2 separate regions of the Homo sapiens genome follow, and region 1 is linked to region 2. Evidence: promoter capture Hi-C in human tissues and cell types (Jung and others, 2019). All regions are on one chromosome and are shown on one strand. Each heading gives the region's core, a stretch centred on a gene start or on the middle of the fragment in contact. The rest is flanking DNA. Distances are from core to core; before and after follow the strand shown. Region 1 overlaps DPPA5 (developmental pluripotency associated 5). Region 2 holds the start of MTO1 (mitochondrial tRNA translation optimization 1).

What was found. The method cuts DNA at HindIII sites, captures the fragments that hold promoters and counts their contacts. A contact is called where the count stands out against the background at its distance.
Region 1: a contact is called between a fragment that was not itself captured here and the fragment with the promoter of MTO1 in region 2, in 2 of the 25 tissues and cell types used here (H1 embryonic stem cells and liver).

The regions. Positions count from the first base shown.
Region 1 is chr6:73,346,785-73,353,875 of GRCh38, reverse strand. It overlaps DPPA5 (developmental pluripotency associated 5), which reads left to right. Exons shown (of 3, transcript NM_001025290.3): 2 at 1-23; 3 at 498-813. The coding sequence ends at 556. Among named protein-coding and RNA genes, the nearest start is that of DPPA5, 3.9 kb to the left of the region's middle. RefSeq lists enhancers at 1-46, 3,878-4,381, 4,382-4,886, 4,887-5,390, 5,391-5,895 and 1 more. The HindIII fragment of the contact is 6,119 bases long and covers 2,468-7,091 here.
Region 2 is chr6:73,457,209-73,463,478 of GRCh38, reverse strand. It overlaps MTO1 (mitochondrial tRNA translation optimization 1), which reads right to left and starts at 1,742. Exons shown (of 12, transcript NM_012123.4): 1 at 1,408-1,742. The coding sequence starts at 1,624. RefSeq lists enhancers at 1,202-1,251, 1,272-1,331, 1,402-1,731, 904-1,749 and a silencer at 2,182-2,241. The HindIII fragment of the contact is 26,494 bases long and covers 1-6,270 here.

The sequences.
Region 1 (7,091 bases), core at 4,278-6,777, 110 kb after region 2:
GCACCGCCAGCGCCAGGAGCGAGGTGAGAGGCCCAGAGACTGGGTACGCGGAACACAGGCTCGCGGGGGCCGCTTCGCGCCTCTCCTCCAGCCCTCTCCTCTTTCTCCTCTCTTGCTCGCTGCCAGCACCTTGGGCGTCACCAGGGGTGCCCTTGGCATCTGGGCCTTCCCAAGACCCCTTTGGGAATGGGGGCCCCAGAATGCCGGCCGTCGGTCTTGGAGACCCAGGGGTGAGACTATGGTGAAAGGCGGCTGGTGCTGGACCCACTGGGCAGGGTTATCTGAGCTATCTCAACCGTCTCCCCGCCCCCTTCAGTTTCTTGGAGAATGTTCGAATGGGCCGAGTAGTCTCGGGTTCCAAGGTTCTGGGCCTGACTCTCAGGCCCAGAACGCCTGGATCAGAAGTCCCAGAAACGAACCCTGAAAGAGGCGGAGAACAGTCCGGGCGCTTACTATTTTCCCCCAGACTCACGCCGCTGTTGCTATTTCTGGTGCAGGGATGCTCAAACTTGCCGAAGCCATGAATGCCCTCGAACTAGGCCCTTGGATGAAGTGAACCAGTTTCCAGCCAATGCAATGAAGCCGGGTTGCAGAGATTAGGTTGTGGCCAGAGCTAGAGTGATTCCTTAAGCTTGTTTTAAAATCTGCTCCAGCCTAAAGAGTTAAGGGAAAACCATTTGTTCCCTTAAAGAGTTAAGGGAAAACCCTTGGCTCTGAGTCTTGTTGTGAATATTTCTTTGATGATTGTTAATAAAAAGTGTTTTTTCTTTTTTCCCATTTTTAAAAATAACAATAAAGTTTTAAATAAGTTGATAGTTCAGTGTGGTTGATGGATTGTAGGTACTACCTTAAATATCTCTGAAGCACAGCTGAAGTGTGGCCCTGAGCTTAACCCTTAATTGAAATCCTCCAAAGACAAAATGAGGGTCCAAAGGCACACTTGGCTAGTGTCAAAAAGGGTGGAGGAGCCAGGGTCCTGAGATGCAGCACTGAACTAAAAACCTATGGGAGATGTGATGATTGTCTCAAGTGACCTGGACTCACTTGAAAACAACCCTATAATAGGTTGACATTTTGTATATAAGCTGAAAAGCAAATGTGTCCAACAAAAATATGGGAAGTCAGAACCATTGTTAGTGTAGCATGTTTTGTGTGTGTTTTTTGTTTGTTTTCTTTTCTTTTCTTTTTTTTTTTGGAGACGAGTTTTTCTCTTGTCACCCAGGCTGGAGTGCAATGGAGCGATCTTGGCTCACTGCAACCTCCTCGACCCCCCTCCCCCGCCCCCACCCCTTTCAAGCAATTCTCCTGCCTCAGCCTCCCGAGTAGCTGGGATTATGGGTGAGTAGCTGGGATTATGGGTGAGTAGCTGGGATTACAGGTGTGAGCCACCGTGACTGGCCAAAATCTCAGATTTTCAAAGGGTTTTGCTCTCTTCTCCCAGGTGGTCCATACTCAGGGGAGATCCTCTCCTCTACAGTCTGCTTAACCTGCTTTATTTTTTCTTTATGGCATTTATAAACTCGACCGATAGTGTTAACTGGTCATTTTCCTCCTCTCTACTCCTAAGATTTAAACCCCAACAAGGCAGGGACATTGATTTTTTTGTTGTTCTTAAGAGGGGCAATATGGTATAGTACATAGTGGTTAAGGATAGTGTTGTAAGAAACGGACAGCAGCTAGAATACCTGGGTTTGAATCTTAACTCAGCTACTTATTAGCTGGGGAACCAGGCATATGTTAGCCTTTGTGCTTCAGTTCTCCACCTGTAATATGGGGATAATTATATCTACCTCATTGGGTTGCAGTGAGGATTAAATGAGATAAGACTATGTCCTAAATCTGCGAAGTATTAAAACAATGTCTGACACAATGGGCATTATTTCTTGAATGTATGAATAATAGGCTACTCTTCCTCTACTGCAGGACTGGAGTAGACTCCTGTATTACAGGTTCTGAGGGAGGAGGGACTCCAGCTTCCAGTCCTATCCTCTAAGGTTCTCATCATTGAAGACTCAGAGGGAGGGCCATGAAAGTCTTGTAAATGCATTGTTTTTCTACCCCCTGGAAGTCCTGGGTGCAGTTTCTGGGACCATTAGATGCCATACCACTTGTGGGTCCCTGAGAAGACAAAGGCACATTTGGCATGCTATTGAGCTTTATTTGGAGTGGAGACCAAGGGATCAGTCACGTACCCTATTGGCATTTTTACCCTCCCCCGTCCCAGCCCTGAGACCTGTGGCTGGAAGGTCCTAGACCACTCAGCCTGGCTCCTGCTCAAGATTTTGAAGGAAGGCCAGGCGTGGTGGCTCACGGCTGTATTCCCAGCACTTTGGGAGGCCAAGGTGGGTGGATGACGAGGTGAGGAGTTCGAGACAACCTGGCCAACATGATGAAACCCCCGTCTCTACTAAAAATACAAAAATTAGCTAGGCGTTGTGGCGGGTGCTTGTAGTCCCAGCTATGTGGAAGTCTGAGGCAGGAGAATCGCTTGAACCTGGGAGGCTGAGGAAGACCGTGCCACTACACTCCAGCCTGGGTGACAGAGAAACTCTGTCTCAAAAAAAAAAAAAAAAAAAAAAAAAGAATTATCTGGGCACAGTGGCACATGCTTGTAGGCCTAACTACTCAAGAGGCTGAGGCAGGAGGTTCGCTTGAGTTCAGGAACTTGGGGTTACAGTGAGCTATGATCGTACCAGTGTACTCCACCCTGGGCGAAAGGAAACTGTCTCAAAAAAAAAAAAATCTAAAATGATAGAAGTCTCCCTCCTATCTCATTTCATATCATACATTTCCTACTTCCCAAAAATAAGCAATATTTTCTTGAATGTCCATTCAAGAGTTTTTAAAAAATATAAGGAATTATACGTGTAGATTATTTTCCCTCCTTTACAGCTGGGTATTATTCAATTTAATTCTCTACAAAATGACTTTTGAGTTTATTCCCAATCTTTTGCTTTTACAAAGATGAGATGAATACTTTGAATAACTTTTTTTTTTTTTTTTGAGACAGTTTTGCTTTTGTCACAGGCTGCAGTGTAATGGCGTGATCTTGGCTCACTGCAACCTCTGCCTCCTGGATTCAAGCGATTCTCCTCCCTCAGCCATCTGAGTAGGTGGGATCACAGGTGTGGGCCACTACGCCCTGCTAATTTTGTATTTTTAGTAGAGATGGAGTTTCACCATATTGGCCAGACTGGTCTCCAACTCCTGACCTCGGGTGATCCACCCGCCTTGGCCTCCCAAAGTGCTGGAATTAACGGTGTGAGCCACTGTGCCCAAAACAATACCACTGTTTTGCAAGTCTGCCAGTAGTATGTCTGTAGGTTAAATTCCCAGAGGGAGAATTGCTGGTCCAAAGGGGAAAAACATAATTTTGCTAAATATTATCATAGAGATTGCCTATTTCCCCATTGCCTCACCCTTTTTTGTTGAATCTGATGAAGTTTCCCTGTCTTTTGTGCTGATAGCTTGAATTTGCTTTATGGACTAACAGTTGGTTGTTAGCACCCTCAGATGACCCTCATCTAGTGCACCCTTCAGAGAATCAGTTGGCCATGAAAGACTCTATGTGGGAATGTAGACCAGATACTTTTGAAACCCCAATTCTGCAGTGTAAATCAAGCACATAAAACTAACAGCCTTGTCCTTTAAGTCTAGAATTCTTTCTCTCTCTCTCTTTTTTTTTTTTGGAAACAGAGTCTCTGTCACTCAGCTGGAATGCAGTGGCATGATCTCGGCTCACTGCAGCCTCTGCCTCCCAGGTTCAAGTGATTCTCTTGCCTCAGCCTCCCCAGTAGCTGGGATCACAGGCATGCACCACCATGTCCAGCTTTTTTTTTTTTTTTTTTTTCTTCAGTATTTGTAGTAGACATGGGTTTTCACCATGTTGGCCAGGCTGGTATTGAACTCAATATCTTAAGCGATCCACCTGCTTTGGCTTCCCAAAGCTCTGAGCGTACAGGTATGAGACACCGTGCCTGGCCTAGAGTTCCCTCTTAAAGGCAGAGTTTCTAAATGCAGAAAACTTTGAGTAGGTATCAATTATGGTAGCAAAAGAGGGAAATTTAAGAATCTGCCATAAATTCCATGCAAGTCCTGGACTGAAAATTTTTCAGCTCCCCTTTCCCAATCCCCCAAACCAAAAATAACAGCAATAAAATACTTTAAGAAAATTCATAGGTAAAATTTTGGAAGTAAAAGTCTGAAGGTGGTTTGCCTTGGAGCGGATTTCTTTCTTTGAGTTTGCAGCTGGTGATCAGCTTTCCACCAAGGTTAAGTGCGACAATTACAGGAAACCTCAAGCTTTCTTGTAATGCAGATGAGAGGGGTCTGCCCTAAGGAGGGTCTGACAATGGGATGGAAGAGTTTTGGAGAGGAGATAAAACAAGTGCTTAGTCCAAGAAAGCCTTTAAATAACAAGCGATAAACACCCAATCAAGTGTAATCCTCCAACCCTAAAGTGGCTAATAATAATAACAATAGCTAACGCTGATTGAGAGCTTCTAGCTCCGCGGGGCTAGAAGCTGGGCTCTTTTATTAACTGAATTCTCAAAATATTCTCATTGTCCATTTAAGGAAATTGAGATCCCACCAATCACACCACCTCCCGGTATTTATGTCTTACATTTAAATGTATACGTGATTTCTTTGGGGGCCCTATGAAATGTTTTTATTTTTAATTTATTTTTTGCGACGGAGTCTCACTCTGTTGCCAGGCTGTAGTGCAGTGGCACGATCTCGGCTCACTGCAACCTCCAACACCCGGGTTCAAGCGATTCTCTTGCGCAGCCTCCCAGGTAGCTGGGATTACAGGCGCGCGCCGGCGTGCCCGGCTAATTTTTGTATTTTGAGTAGAGACCGGGTTTTGCCATGTTGGCTAGGATGGTCTCCAACTCCTAACCTCAGGTGATCCGCCCGCCTCGGCCTCCCAGAATGCTGGGACTACAGGCGTGAGCCACCGCGCCCTTCCGGGCCCTATGAGACTTTTTACCCTTTGGGTGGGCTGATAGAGCGGGAGAGGGGAAGCCAGAGTGGGTGTGGGTGTTCCTCGCAGGGCCCCGCGGGGTCACCTATGCCCAACTCATTCCCAAGTGGGCTCCGAGGCAGGCGCTGTTAGGTCTCCTGGGACTGAAGCCACCTGCAGGGTGGTCTGGAGCAAGTCTCCCAACCTCTGTAGACAGGCGGGCCCTCCGGGAGCTTCCGGTCTGGTTAGGAGCCACATGGATGTAAGAATCCGAGAAATGAACACCGGTGCTGTGCTGGGAGGCTGAAATGTTGGAGACTAGACCTGGGCAGGGAGGTCAGGGACGGTCCCCCAAGGAAGTCACCTTGGGTGAGATCTGAGTGACCGGCAGCAGTGAGCCAGGCGAGGAGGAAGGGAAGTGCAGCCCTGGGAACAGGATGGTGGCTAGGCCAGAAGGTTGAGCCGGCTGGGGCATGGCCGGAACGGGAGCGAGGCAGTTCCCCCCGGGGCCTCGCAGACCTTGCAGAGAGCAAAGGTAACCCATCCAAAGGTTTTGAGCAGGAGGTGACTATGGAACCACCCGGAACCACTCAGATAAGCTGTTTCCCTGTCCCTGGCAGCTAGGATCCTAGGATCAGTTTGGATTCTGATTCTTCTCTAATGGCTCTGCCCTGTCTCTCCACTGTTCCCATCGACTCATTTGTTGAATGGCATTATTGAAATATTTGTTGAAGGTCGGGCGCGGTGGCTCACGTCTGTAATTCCAGCACTTTGGGAGGCTGAGGTGGGCGGATCACGAGGTCAGGAGTTCGAGACCAGCCTAACCAACATAGTGAAACCCCGTCTCTACTAAAAATAGAAAAAAGCTGGGTGTGGTGGAGGGCGCCTGTAATCCCAGCTACTCGGGAGGCTGAGGCAGGAGAATTGCTTGAACCTAGGAGGCAGAGGTTGTGGTAAGCCAAGATTGCGCCACTGTGCTCTAGCATGGGCGACACAGCTAGACTCCTCAAAAAAAAAAAAAAAAAAAAAAAGAAAAAATTTAAATATATATTTGTTGAGTGTCTGCTTTGCTACATACTCAGGAGTGGTGTTTTAGGAAGAAAACAAAAATGACAATGTGGCCCACGAACATTTTCAGGATTTCAGAGACTATTTTCAGAAAACAAGTGTCTGGGGTGTTACTTACATGAAAGAAATTTGGAATATTAAATTGTATGGTAACTAATCAGAGGCAGAAATATTTTTTTCGAGGAGTTATCTGTATGGCACTAGAATTCCAGCGTTGGAATTTGTCCAGAGAGGGGCTGCTGCACCAAGTCTTGTAGCCATTTTGCAATCTCTGCTGCAGAAAGGGAAGGACCAGGTTTTCCAAACTTCACTCCAATTCTCAAAAGCTGGTCTTAGTTTCATGGGATTCCTCTTTTCCTTCTAGCTTCAACAGTCTAAATATTGTTGCATTGGGGATAGATAAGATTTACCCTCATGAAAATGCCAAATTAGCTGACCCTGGGATCACTGCCCATGAGTTAGCCCTGTTCTGCAAGGAGCAGTACTGTAAAACAAAACAAAAGAGCCAAATTAACTACGATCAAACCTTTGTATCCGCTGTTCTGCAACCACGGATTCAACCAACCTCCCATCAAAAATATTCAGAAAGAAAACAATAACAATGCAACAGTAAAGATACAAATAAACCCCAATACAATGTAACTATTTACATAGCATTTGTATTGTTAGTAATCTAGAGATTATTAAAAAGTATAGGGGAGGATGTTTATAGGTTATATGTAAACATGTCATTTTACATTAAGAACTTGAACATCTGTGGATTTTGGTATGGGAGAGGGGGTGCTGAAACAAATCTCTCAGATAGGGAGAGATGACTGTAATATTTCATTGTACCACTATAAAAGGAGAAGAAAATGTGCAACATAGGGCTCCTAGCCTAAACTTCTTTCACAGGCATGGGAATTTAATGGGGACAAGTAGGGCAAAAGAAACAGGAGTATTAGGGCAAAAGAAAATAGGGCTTGGGGTCTGTGGGAGGGAAAAGAACTAAAAAGAGGAACAGATAGACAATTTATCTCTTTTTGAAGCTTTAGTAAATTTTGATGAGAAGAGTCCCAGA
Region 2 (6,270 bases), core at 493-2,992:
GTTGATGTTTTAGCTAGTATCTATCATGATGCTACAGAACGGCCATCCAACCATTACCCATTAGAGCAAAAAAAGTACTGTCCAGTACTAAACACAAAATCCAGGGACGACAACCCAGAAGGAATATAGGATGCAAAAGGTAGCATGGCGCTGGGCACGGTGGCTCATGCCTGTAATCCCAGCATTTTGGGAGGCCGAGGCGGGCGGATCACAAGGTCAGGAGATCGAGACCATCCTGGCTAACATGGTGAAACCCCGACTCTACTAAAAATACAAAGAAAAAAAAAATTAGCCGGGCGTGGTGGTGGGTGCCTGTAATCCCAGCTACTCGGGAGGCTGAGGCAGGAGAATGGCATTAACCCGGAAGGCGGAGCTTGCAGTGAGCCGAGATGGCGCCACTGCACTTGAGCCTGTGTGACAGTGCAAGACTCTGTCTCAAAAGAAAAAAAAAAAAAAAAGGTAGCATGGTTCTTCCAAAAGGCATCACAAAATCTTGACAGAAACACAAAGATCAGGCTGGGCAGAGTACTGAGCACCTGCAATCCCAGCTACTGGTTAGGCAGAGGCAGGAAAAGTTCTTGAGTCCAGAAAGCGGAGCCTGTAATGTGCAACGATCGTGCCTATGAGTAGTCACTGCACTCCAGCCTGGGCAACATGGCGAGACCCTGTCTCTAAAAAAATGTTTTTAAATAAAAACACAAGAACCGTTTAATAAAGGATTTTTTTATTTTATTAATATTATCATTATTTTGAGACGGAGTTTTGCTCTTTTGCCCAGGCTGGAGTGAAGTGGCGCAATCTCGGCTCACTGCAACCTCTGCCCCCGGGTTCAAGCGATTCTCCTGCCTCAGACTCCCGAGTAGCTGGGATTATAGGCGCCCGCCACCATGCCCGGCTAATTTTTGTATTTTTAGTAGAGACGGGGTTTCGCCGTGTTGGCCAAGCTGGTCTCAAACTCCTGACCTCAGGTGATCCACCTGCCTTGGCATCCCAAAGTGCTGGGATTAAAGAAGTGAGCCACTGCACCTGGCCATAAACCATTGTTAATAATGTTAATTCACCCTTTATCTGGAGTAACATAGTAGAAGGTAAACGCAGCAATGAACTAAGAAGCTACCAGCGAGTAGTTGGTAGCTCCCTTTCCCAAGGCACTGACCCCGAACCCCAACCTCCTACAACGGACGACTGTCAGCAGCAGCATAATCTATGGTTCGCAGAATAGACTAATATAGAGTTCTGGCCTGGCCCGCCTGATCCTTGCGAGACACTGATCGAGGCTAAAACCACAGAAGGTAGGATTCTCACTAGCTTTGAGGAAAGGAAGAGGTCCCCCGCTTCAGACCGGGGGAGGCGGGAAGGAAGCAGCCTGCGTCCTACGCCAAGTTCCACAGCACCCGCGCTCCTCACCGATCGTGTCCACGCGGTGAGTGAGGAGCAGAGTCCGAGAGCCGCACCGAGCGGCGGCGGTGGCTGCCTCAGTCCCGGCATGTCCTCCACCAATGACTATCACGTCGAAGTGCGGAGTCCGGGGCGCCGCGCTGTCACTGCTCAACCGTGCCAACGGAAATTGCTGCTTGGTGAAGGAAACCGCGACCCAACGGCCACAGCCTCGGAAGTAGAACATGCTGGGAGAAAAATCTATCTGACTTTGAAGCTGACACGAGTGACGGTCAAAAAAACTTACGCAACAAGAGACAATCTGCAGGGCGCGGCCATCTTGCTTTAATATCACGGGGTAGGACGTCTACGTCCAGCGTCGCCGCTGATTGGCGGTTTGGAGCTACTTTCCTGGTGAGGGAGATGGGTGATCGCACGGAGGGCCGGTTGTGTATTTTCTTTCCTAGTTCGTGCGGGCTTTTTTTATTATTATTATTTTTTATTTTTATTTATTTATTTATTTATTTATTTATTTATTTATTTATTTATTTATTTATTTATTTATTTTGAGACAGAGTCTCGCTCTGTTGCCCAGGCTGGAATGCAGTGGCGCGATTTCGGCTCACTGCAAGCTCCCCCTCCCGGGTTCGCGCCATTCTCCTGCCTTAGCCTCCGAGTAGCTGGGGCTACAGGCGCCCGCCACTACGCCCGGCTAATTTTTTGTATTTTTAGTAGAGACTGGGTTTCACCGTATTAGCCAGGATGTTCTCGATTTCCTGACCTCGTGATCCGCCCGTGCGGGCTTTTTTTGATTTCCTGTGGTTCTGGGTTGGGAGCTCCTACTAAAGGTCATCTTTTGTACTTTCTTAGGCCCTGCAGTCCTTATCGCCAGGTGGCCACCTACGATCAATGAATTTGATCACTTTGCCTTATCAGATCTTTGTGATCTGACAATCTGATACACCGTCACCTTCTGTTTGTCTATAAAAACTAAGGGCTGAAAATAAGAATAGATTCGGGCCGGGCGCGGTGGCTCACGCCTGTATTCCCAGCACTCTGGGAGGCCGAAGCAGGTGGATCACAAGGTCAGGAGATGGAGACCATCCTGGTCAACATGGTGAAACCCCATCGCTACTAAAAAAAAAAAAAAAAAAAAAAAAAAAAAAAATTAGCCGGGAGTGGTGGCATGCACCTGTAATCCCAGCTACTCAGGAGACTGAGGCAGGAGAATCGCTTGAACCTGGGAGGCCGAGGTTGCAGTGAACCAAGATTGTGCCACTGCACTCCAGCCTGGGCGACAGAGCAAGACTCCGTCTCAAAAAAAAAAAAAGAAAAAGAAAAGAAAAAGAATAGATTCGAAAGGAGTTCAAATATATTTGTGGACTGAAAGATTCATGATGGTGCCTGGGCATGGTGGATCACGCCTGTAATCCTAGCACTTTGGAAGGCCGAAGGGGGCAGATTGCCTGAGCTCAGGAGTTCGAGACCAATCTGGGCAACATGGTGAAACCCCGTCTGTACTAAAATACAAAAAAAAAAATTAGCCAGGTGTGGTGGCATGCACCTGTAGTCCCAGCTACTTGGGCGGCTGAGGCAGGAGAATTGCTTGAACCCGTAGGCAGAGGTTGCAGTGAGCCGAGATCGTGCCACTGCACTCCAGCCTGGCGACAAGAGTGAGACTCTGTCTCAAAAAAAAAAAAAAGAGAGAGAGAGATTCATGATGGCTAATTGGTTAATTAGAAGAATCGGTTGGTTGGAGGTTAAATGTCCAGCCTTTTGGAATTCACAGCCTTTCTCAATTCACAGCCTTTCTCAGAAAGGCAACGTTTGACTGGAGAATAAAACAAGTGTGGTATTGCAGGATCTGGCCAGCAGCCCACAATGCAATGGGGCTCTTTCTTTGTTCCCAGGCGGATTGGCAGGTCGAGAAATAATAGACACACAGAAGATATTGAAAGCTGGGTCCAGGGGGGTCACTGCCTTCTGGTCCTGCAATGCTGCTAATACACTGGATATACCAGCATTTATTATTAAGTTTAGTGAGGGCAGGGGTAGGTTAGTGAGGGATTTAGGGTCATTTGATTATGAGGTGAGATGGTCACATGGGGATGAAGTAATTCTTTAACATAACATCTGTATGCAGAAGTACAGTATACAGAGATAAGAATTTACAATATATTGTGTGCATCAGTAATTTCTAACAGAGCCTTAAAACAGAAACAGTCTTTCCATAACCTATGATTAGCAAGATATTAATCAGCAGTAACAGTTGCAGCAAAAGCTGGTTACAAACAATCCATAGAAACAGGATGTGAAGCTAGACAATCAGTTAGACCAGAAATTCTCAGAAGGGAGTATGCCTTAACCCTAAAAAGGCCTAGAAGAGCCGTGGCAAGATGAGGGCATTTATAGCCCTATCTTACCCACAGGGACAGGCGCCCCTCATGCGTCCGTTTAGAGGCTTTCCACAAGGGTTGCATTCCATTCCCAGAGCTATGAACATCTGCTTTTCTGGGATAGGAATCTTGGTGATGCACGTCCGTTCATAGGCTCTCTGCAGGGGGAAGCACATCACCCGCTGTTGGCTCATTCTGGCAGTCCAACCTGGCATTCTCTTTACACAATCCTGCATGCAACTTTGTATTTACAATAATCAGGAGCATTTCATCTTTTATTCCGTAGCAATAGTTTCAGGGGTCTCCCTACAGTGTGGCAGTTTTATTGTTCTAATTATAAAAAGTATTAAATACATAGGCCGGGAGTGGTGGCTCACACCTGTAATCCCAACACTTTGGGAGGCCAAGGTGGCGGATCACTTGAGTCCACCAGGAGTTTGAGACCAGCCTGGCCAATATGGCGAAACTCTATCTCTACTAAAAATAGAAAAATTAACCTGGCATGGTGCTGCGTGCCTGCAGTCCCAGCTACTCAGGAGGCTGAGGCAGGAGAATTGCTTGAACCCAGGAGGCACAGGTTGCAGTGAGCCCAGATGGTGCCATTGCACTCAAGCCTGGGTGACTGAGACCCTGTCTCAAAAAAACAAAACAAAAACCCTTAAAACAAAAAACAGTAAACATTATTTCTTTTCTTTATTTTTTTTTAATAGGATCTCCTTCTGTTGCCCAGGCTGGAGTGCAGTGGCGCTATCATGGCTCACTGCAACCTCCGCCTCCTGGGCTCAAGTGATCCTCCCACCTCCATCTCCCAAATAGCTGGGACCACAGATGTGGGTGGACACTAGGCCTGGCTAATTTGGTTTCTTTGTTGTTGTTTTTTGTTTGTTTGTTTGTAGACATGGGGTTGAGGGAGGGAGTGTCTCACTATGTTGCCCAGGTTGGTCTTGAACTCCTGGCCTAAAGCCTCCCAAAGTGCTGGGATTACAGGTGTGAGCCCTGCTCCCAGCCTATTTTTGATATTTTTTTCTTTAAATTTTTTTTTTCGCTTTCTGCAACTTCGGTTAAATATTTTTTAATAAAAATTAGATCATAGTGTGTGCATTGTTTTGTAATCTATTCTTTACTTAATAATCATGAACACTTTTCTATCCAAAAAAAATAACAATAAGACATAAGGAAACTCTAGATGATACCTTAGGGATGAGGGAAAGTATCCAAAAATTAAAGTGGGAAGGCGTTCATATCTCAAGTACAGAAAGCCTTTAGAAAGCATGTGCAGTGCAAAGTGGGGGGTTTACAGAGGAAGAAGCAGCTCTGTGTAGACCTCCTGGGCCACAGGTGGGCTTCACAGAGGGGCTTGCAAAAGGATCAGCTTCTGGGGTATGATTCTCTGGCCCAGGCAGCTGTATGCAGGCAAGGTGGGAATTTTAGTTTCTCTGTCTAGAAGGCTGTGGACAGGTTATAGATAGGTCAAGGCTCCAAAGTCACAGGGAGATCACTTTCTGGGCTTATGACTGAGGTAGGCTCTACCAGATGTTCTCATACCCAAGGCTGACTAGAGATAAACATGAGGCATACAGAGTAAGATGTAATCCCAGCATTTTGGGAAGCCAGTGTGGGCATATCACTTGAAGCCAGGAGTTCAAGACCAGCCTGGACAGCATGGTGAAACCTCATCTCTACTAAAAATACAAAAATTAGCCAGGGTGGTGGCGTGTGCCTGTAATCCCAGCTACTTGGGAGGCTGAGGTACGAATTGCTGCAATGAGCTGACATTGCACTGCTGCACTCCAGCTTGGGTGGCAGAGTGAGATGCTGTCTCAGAAAAAAAAAAAAAAAAGAAGTGGTAAAGTCAACTAGATAAAATATATACCCACAAATAAATTTCCTGGGGTTTCCTACTAGATAAAATCCAAGTTCCACATCAAGACTCAACTAAACAGTCATTTTCTCTGTGATTTGGACACTGATTGCTGCAGAAAGGTTGAATAAAGAATGAGTTCTCCTCCTTTGGTAGGCCAATAGTAGAGATATTTGATCTGGCCCAGTGGATTGTTGCTTGCAGCTTCTGGTTAAAGAAACCACCAGTGACTTAAGGGGACTTTAGAAACTGATGGAAGAGAGCATTTATTTTATTTTATTATTTTTTTTTTTTTGAGACGGAGTCTCGCTCTGTCTCCCAGTCTGGAGTGCAGTGGCGTGATCTCGGCTCACTGCAACCTCCGCCTCCCAGGTTCAAGCAATTCTCCTGCCTCAGCCTCCCATGTAGCTGGGACTATGGGTGCCGGCCACCACGCAAGGCTAATTTTTGTATTTTTAGTAGAGACCATATTGGTCAGGCTGGTCTCAAACTCCCGACCTCAGGTGATCCACCCACCTTAGCCTCCCAAAGTGCTGGGATTACAGGCGTGAGCCACCGCGCCCGGCTGAGAGCATTTATTTTTATGTATTTTTTTTTTGAGATGGAGTCTTGCTCTGTTGCCCAGGCTGGAGTGCA